Linked DNA regions of Homo sapiens: region 2 is linked to region 1. The links are contacts of gene promoters, found by promoter capture Hi-C in human tissues and cell types (Jung and others, 2019). All regions are on one chromosome and are shown on one strand. The core of a region is centred on a gene start or on the middle of the fragment in contact, and the rest is flanking DNA. Distances in the headings are between cores, read along the strand shown.

Region 1 (3,932 bases), core at 1-2,500:
TGTGACGTACTGGGTTTTTAGCAAGCATTTTTTAGAAAACACTTTCTCGGTGTAATTTATAAAGTTATATAAAATTTGTCAATACCTGCTTTGTTGCAGCGTGTCTTAAAAATTTCAAAAAATGTTGGCCTCTCTTTGGATCCAATAGGCATTTTTACCTACGATATTCCTCCAATGCTTGGTAAATAAGTCTGCAAAACAGAAGACCAAAATGCACTTACACAGGGATGCATTCCTTATTATGTGACTGAGGTAAAACTCAGAAGCGCTGGAAAATTTGTTTGAATTCTAATTCAGTCCCATCTCCTGGAACGGTAACAGCTTACTGTGAGGATGGGAACATTTTACAGCTGTGCTGTCCAAACCGGTGCCACTAGCCACATTAAGCACTCGAAACGTGGCTAGTGCGACTAGAGAAGAGGATTTTCATACGATTTAGTTTCAATCACGCTAACCAGTGACGCGTGGCTAGTGGGGACAGAGGGCTCCAGTTAGAGACCAACGCCGCCTGGTAATTCCCATCAGCATGTCTTCGGAATACAGCAATTACCAGGGGCTTAAGTAAGGCAAATACAGCGTGCCCAGCAGCTGTAAAACACTTCCCCAAAACAGCAATATTCCGTTAAAGTGATCGTGTTTCCAAGAAATTTCAGATGGCGTCATCTGGGACAGCTGGGAGGGAAGTTAAGTCTTGAGCTGAAGGCGGAGCCCAAAGGCCGGGCCGGAGGCGGGAAATGGAGACCCAGGGAAGGGGCGGGGCTCGAATTTGCTTGGCGAAAATCTGCCTTCGGGCAAGGACCTTTCTCTCAGGCATGGGTGGGGGTTGGCAGAGACAAAAGGGCAAGAAGCCGCGGCAGCGACCCGGGGCGTGAGGCGCTCCCCCGCCACGCTGGACTGGGACTGCGGAAGACGCGCTCGTCCCAACCCACTACCACCACCACTAACCCGCTCCAGAGGTGCAGTTCTTTTTTGGCCGGAGTAAGCTGACAAAAACCGCGCCGGTCACAAATCTGTCCCCTCACGCTTCTCCCGGCGGCGACCCACCGCCGCAAAAGACACCCGAGGCGCAGCAGAGGCGCAGCAGTGCCACAGCGGCTCCGCCTCTGCCGCCTAGTTTCAGAAGCTCGCGCCACAAGCCCGCGCTGGCCACGTGACGCCGTGACGCGACACGCAGCACACGCACCACCCGGAAGTCAGGCCTGGGTGGGCCGCTGCGGGTATTTCTCAGTGTGGCGAAAGGAAATTCCTTGTCAGGCATCCCAACCGTCAGTATCTGACCGAATAAAGCGGGAGCTGGAGTGTGTGTTCTCTTCTCGCTGACCCTTAAGAGTCCCAGGCCACCCTGCTTGGAGGGGCCGCCCCTATGCCTACTCCAAGTCCCCCATCCCTTTCTTTTTGCTCCAGCTCATGTTTGGGTGGGCGCCCTCGGGACACGACCTGGGACCTATGAAATACCTTTGTTCTGACCTTAAAAGGGATGTTCTCTCAAGACCTGTTCCCCAAAGCGAGCCGATCTTACAAAAGCTTAGAGTGGTCGGTGTGTGGTTGTGGATGACTTCACTTAGTGGTAGTGGGCGGGGCTGTTATTTGAAATCAGAGGATTTTAGTTCCAGTAGCTGTTCTGCTATTGGGTAGCAGGTGTTCAAGACCTCCGAGCCCGTTTCCTTGCTTGAAAAATTGTGAAACCCATCTTAACTCGCTCATGAAGTGTGAGGTACCTTGCTCCGCAGGGCTTGGTAGTATCTTTTGCTTTTTTTTTTGAGACGGAGTTTCGCTCTTGTGGCCCGGGCTGGTGTGCAATGGCGCAATCTCCGCTCACCGCAACTTCCGCCTCCAGGGATCAAGTGGTTCTCCTGCCTCAGCCTCCCGAGTAGCTGGGAATACAGGCATGGGCCACCACGCACGGCTAACTTTGCATTTTTAAGTAGAGACGGGGTTTCTCCGTTGTTGGTCAGTCTGGTCTCAACCTCCCGACCTCAGGTGATCTGCCTGCCTCGGCCTCCCAAAGCGCTGGGATTACAGGCATGAGCCACCACACCCGGCCCATCTTTTGCATTCTTAGGATTCGGATCACCTGTCTTCCTCGCAGGCTGAACTGGAAGACCTGACTTCATCTCCGAATTCGTTGGTTCTGTAACATGCCTAATACAAGGCTGAATAGGGTTTGTTGTAAGACCTACAAAACCTTCAAATGGATTCAGTGAGAGTTGCTCCCATGGGGGCCTTGCTGCTTCCAGAAGGTGCTTGAGCAGTAAACAGAAGCAACCTTGGATTAGGAAAAGGGTGGGCTCCGCTTGGTTCCTTAGGGACCATTTTAGTTTGATAATCAGTAATCCTTAGTTGTAGAAGGAGGCCTTACTAATGCAGATAGATTCTAAAGCTTTTGCTCTAAGTCTAATTCGCAAAGAAATACGTCTGTGATCCTTACTAATAACAGCTGCCACTTACCAAACATTTTATGAGTTAGGCATTCTGCTTTGGGTTTTCAAGCAATACCATGTTTAATCTTACAGTAATCCTGTAAATTGGTCAGTATTGTCAGATGAGGATACTGAATCAAGTAGTTAAGTAATGTGCCTGGTAGTAAGGCCCAGGTTTGAATTCTAGTCCATTTGACTTCATACACTTAACTAACCTGTGATTTATTTACCCTATAAATCAGAACAATATGCTTTGTCCCCTTTTTGTGGGGGAGGGGTGTCTCACTAGGAGTGGACTAATGAGAACCCGTGGCATGTCACACAAGTCTCAGAAATAACATTTTCTGTCATTTTATACAGCCCCCCATACCTTTATGTTTCTTGTTCTCTTTGTACCAGGGACTTGCAACTTATTAGCTCCACCATAATAGACTTTCTCACCTATTCTCTTCTAGTGCAGCTGCTCAATTTACTATTTGTATTCAATTTACAATATGCTTTAATTTTTCTTAAAAACATTATTTCCAGCTGGGCATGGTGGCTCACGCCTGTAATCACAGCACTTTGGGAGGCCAAGGTGGGCAGATCACCTGAGGTCAGGAGTTCGAGACCAGCCTGGCCAACATGGCAAAACCCTGTCTCTACTAAAAATACAAAAATTAACTGGGTGTGGTGGCATGTGCCTGTAATCCCAGCTACTTGGGAGGCTGAGGTGGGAGAATCACTTGAACCCCAGAGGCGGAAGTTGCAGTGAGCCGAAATCATGCCACTGCACTCCTGCCTGGGAGACAGAGCAAGGAAACTCCATTTCAAACAAGCAAACAAACAAAAACCCAAAAAACCATTATTTCCTAAAAGTTGTATATATTTAATGTGCACAACATGTATATGTACACAGTGAGATGATTACTATAGTCAAGCAATTAACATATCCATCTGTTCACATAATTACCTTTCTTTTGTGTGCGGTGAGAGCACCTGAAATTTCTCTTTGAAACTTTTCAGTATAAAATACAGTATTGTTAACTGTAGTCGTTATGCTGTAAATTAGATCTCTAGACTCATTCATTCTACCTAACTGTAACATTTTAGGCTCTGACCAGTCTCTCTCCATTCCCCCCAACTTCCTGTCCCTGGTAACCACCATTCTACTTTCTGCTTCTATGTATTTGACTTTTTCAGATTCCACATATCAGTGAGTTTATGCAGTATTTTTCTATCTGGCTTATTTCACTTAGCATAATGTTCCCCAGTTTCACCCATGTTGTTGCAAATGGCAGGATCTCCTGTTTTTTGTTTGTTTGTTTGTTTGAGACGGAGTCTTTCTCTCTCTGTTGCCCAGACTGGAGTGCAGTAGTGTGATCTCAGCTCACTGCAACCTTTGCCTCCCGGGTTCAGGTGATTCTCCAGCCTCAGCCTCCCGAGTAGCTGGGATTACAGGAGCGTGCCACCATACCCGGCTGATTTTTGTATTTTTATTAGAGGCAGGGTTTCATCATGTTGGCCAGGTTG
Region 2 (3,932 bases), core at 645-3,144, 1.0 Mb before region 1:
TACTACGTTTAGATGCTATTTATATTAACAATAACAAAAAAATCTAAGTCAAGAAAATATACAATTAAAATTAGAAAAGAAGAGCACATCACTTATATCAGGGTTGTCAACTTTAGCCACATAGACTCATTTGGAGCCTTTCAGAAGTACTAATTCTCTGACCTCCTCCCGGAGATTCTGATTCAATTCAGATGGGGTCTTGGTATCCATATTTTTAAAAGCCCTGCAGAAGATTTCACTGTGCAGTCCAGGTTGAGAACCACTGACTTACCTTAATTCCCACATAATAACTTGCAGAATTCTGGGGCGAATACAGGGTTATATTCTAAGCCCTAAGAAAAGTTTTGCTTAATTGAGGTCAGAAGGAACTTGTCCTATCACAGGGACAGAAAAAAAAAGATCAGTCGTGCCTGGAGAATAATGAAATAGGTGGTAAGAGTGGATGTCAGAAGTGTAGACAGAGGGTCAGGTTATAAGATAAAGTTAGGCTTTGTTGGCAGGAAAAGAAGTTTTGATTTGGTTCTACAGGAGATAAGAACAAAGGGCTTCAAGCAGAGGAGTGACAAGACCTGAATAAATTACTACCAGTGATGGTCTAGGTGAGAGATAAACAGTGACATGGACTAGGGTGATAGTGATAGAAATGGAGAGAAAGGAACAGATTTGGAGTGTGTCTTGAAATAGAGACAATAACAGGTTGGTTGTTGGAAGCTAGGGAGAGGGACTACTAGATTTGTAGATTTGTTTTTTTTTTTTTTTTTTTTAAGACAGGGTCTCAATCTGTTGCCCAGTCTGGAGTACGGTGATGGAATCATGGCTCAGTGCAGCCTCAACCTTGAAGACTCAAGCGTCCTCCCACATCAGCCTTCCGAGTAGCTGGGACTACAGGCTTGCGTCACCACTCCTGGCTAATTTTTGCATTTTTGTAGAGATGGGGTTTCTTCATGTTGCCCAGACCAGTCTGGTCTCAAACTCCTGGGCTCAAACAATGTTCCCACCTCCACCTCCCAAGGTGCTGGGATGATAGGCATGAGCCACCGAGCCCAGCCAGATTTTTTTTTTTAATTAATAATTTTTTTTAATTTTACTATTATTATACTTTAAGTTTTAGGGTTTTGATCTGAGCAGCTAAGTGGAGTGTAGCAATGTTGGCCAAGATGAGGATAACTGGCAGATTTGCATGGGAGAGAAAAAGGACTCAAAGGTTCTCTGTTGGCTCCATTAGCTTTGGAATGCCTACTAGACATCCAAAAGTAAAAGTCAAGGAATTGGATGCATAAGTATCGGCTTTGTAGGAAAGTCAGAGCCAGAGATATAATGTGGGAATTATTGGCATATGACTACTTTATAAAACTTGGGAACTGGGTGGAGCTACTTAGAAGAGATTGCAGATAAGGGGAAGGGGCCAAGGGCCAAGTCCTGGGGGGCTCTTTGGTTAGAGTGCAATATTTGGACATAAATATGTCCATATGCAAGTACTATTAGTACATACGCACGTACTAAATTTTCAGGAAAATAGAAAGAGAGCAACATTATTTCTAAATTCAACATTCTTCTATCACAATAGTACTGCTATATTACATAATCTTTTGTGATAGAGTTACAAATTTGGTCCTAGAACTGTTGATGGACAAAAATAATCATTGATGGGCATGGTGGCTCGTGCCTCTGTGCTCCCAGCTACTCAGGAGGCTGAGGCGGGAAGATAGCTCTTGCCCAGGAATTCAAAGATTCAGTAAGCTATGATCATGCGACTGCCCTTCAGCCTGGGTGGCACAGTGAGACCCCATGTCTTAAAAAAAAAAAAACAAACTATAAAAAAACCCTCACTGATCAAATGCCTTTTTAATTTAAAAATTATATTGCAAAGTAAAAAAGCAAACAAACTTTTTTTAAGGAAAATACTTCTCAAGTTGCCTGCATATGCACAAAAAAGAAAAACACAGTTTATTAAATAAAAAATGTTTTTAGCATGAGCACTCCTCTGGTTACTATAACTGGTTGGGCCTACGTATAATGGGATAAGAGCTTTACTTTTGGCAGGACTTGGCCAGTGTCCTGATACCCAGGAATAGTCTGATCAAACAAAGCTTAGCTCTTAGGAAAGGCTGTGCATATTGATTTTTCCAATATAGCATCCATTTACTGACCTTTAAGGGTTATGCTTTGCCTCTGACACCACTGGTTAAGGTAAAATTTTTCAGAGCATATAAATAGATAACCAATGTCTTAAATGTTTGTATTTGTGGCCTGGCAGAGTGGCTTATGCCTGTAATCCCAGCACTTAGGGAAGCTGTCCGTGGCGGGCAGATCCCTTGAGGTCAAGAGTTTAAGACCAGCCTGGCCAACATGGTGAAACCTCGTATCTACTAAAAATACAAAAATTAGCCGGGTATGGTGGGGATATGCCTGTAATTCCAGCTACTCCAGAGGCTGAGGCAGGGGAATCACTTGAACCCAAGAGGAGGAGGTTGCAGTGAGCTGAGATTGTACCAGTGCACTCCAGCCTGGGCCACAGAGCTTCCATCTCAAAAAAAAAAAAAGTTTGCATTTGTAAAGGGTGTAACTTAACCTTGGCCTAACCTATCTGCAATATGCTGGCCCACCCTGGGGGGCAATACAGCGTCCTCCTTGAATTGGAAAAAAGAAAGACCATATTCATTAATTGCTGGTGGCTGCTCTGAATAAGAGGCACAAGCCCAGCTGGTTCGCTGAAATTTCTTTTTTTCTTCTTCTTTTTTTTTTTTTTTGGAGACGGAGTCTCGCTCTGTCGCCCAGGCTGGAGTGCAGTGGCACGATCTTGACTCACTGCAACCTCCACCTCCCGAGTTGAAGCCACCACACCCGGCTAATTTTTTTGTATTTTTAGTAGAGACAGGATTTCACCATGTTAGCGAGGTTGGTCTTGATATCCTGACCTTGTGATCCGCCCACCTCGGCCTCTCAAAGTGCTGGGATTACAGGCTTGAGGCACCGCGCCATGCCGTTCACGGAAATTTCTTGAGAGGACCGCAGAATATGATTTTTTGTAAGCCACCAACTTGATCATTTAGACATAGAGCATGTCTAATGAAATTAATATCTACTTCTCTTTTGTGCTTTTTACATCTTATGTTGAACAAAGCACATATGGAGAAAATTTTGCTTTAAGACTTTGTGAAGTTTCCTAGGGGTTTATCCAACAGTATATTTCTATTCTGTCCTTTTGCAAGTTTAGCAAGCTTGTAAAATTAAAATAAAAGTGGTTTTAAAAGTCTTACAACATTTCTGGGCTTTTTTCAGAGTCCTTGAATGTTTAGTCCTAAAAGAGTTGAGTTGAAGGACAAACATTTTTGTCACGTTTGTAGTTAGTCCATAAGTATTTATTGAGCCATGAAATAGCATCCTTGTCAAAGCATGTTGGGACAGTAGTGCAGGATATTAATTCAGTACCATGGCTGTATCTTGGTGAGGCACATAAATTTTACTATGCTGCCCAAATCACTTAACTCATCTATCTGACCAGAAATGAAGCAAGCTTCCAGAAATTGCACAAGAGCAGTATAGAATGTAGCATGACTACACAATATTTTATTTGCAAATCTGCTGTGTCAAGACATCTTACACTCTCAGGCAGTATCTTTCTTTAGTAACATTTTTCTCCAAAATAAAATTTTCAGAATCTTATGTTTCTGGTTTTTTGTACAATAGAGGCTTCATTATCTATAGTGCATCATGGCATATTGTGTTTGTTGAATGCTCCTTTCTCCTTCCTATATAGGAAATTCAATGAACAAGAGAGACAATTATGCAATCCATAAAAATTCATACATTTGCTTGCAATGATATTAAACTGGAAGGTCTTATGCTTCTTATTCTCTCTGCATCTGGATAAAATGGAAACATTTCAAATTTCTTGAAGCATCTTTGAAAGTGTTTTTCCACACTGGGAA

The links. The method cuts DNA at HindIII sites, captures the fragments that hold promoters and counts their contacts. A contact is called where the count stands out against the background at its distance.
Region 2: a contact is called between a fragment that was not itself captured here and the fragment with the promoter of ZAR1L in region 1, in 1 of the 25 tissues and cell types used here (dorsolateral prefrontal cortex).

The regions. Positions count from the first base shown.
Region 1 is chr13:32,312,681-32,316,612 of GRCh38, reverse strand. ZAR1L (zygote arrest 1 like) reads left to right here and starts at 1,250. Exons shown (of 6, transcript NM_001136571.2): 1 at 1,250-1,298; 2 at 2,063-2,283. BRCA2 (BRCA2 DNA repair associated) reads right to left here and starts at 1,105. Exons shown (of 27, transcript NM_000059.4): 1 at 946-1,105; 2 at 86-191. The coding sequence starts at 152. RefSeq lists an enhancer at 446-715, a promoter at 824-1,320, a cis regulatory region at 1,649-1,715 and a silencer at 1,834-2,054. The HindIII fragment of the contact is 8,154 bases long and covers 1-1,952 here.
Region 2 is chr13:33,340,410-33,344,341 of GRCh38, reverse strand. The region is part of intron 2 of LOC124903152 (a long non-coding RNA gene); the gene reads right to left. It also overlaps a transcript of STARD13 not described here. Among named protein-coding and RNA genes, the nearest start is that of LINC02344, 7.1 kb to the right of the region's middle. The HindIII fragment of the contact is 7,040 bases long and covers 1-3,932 here.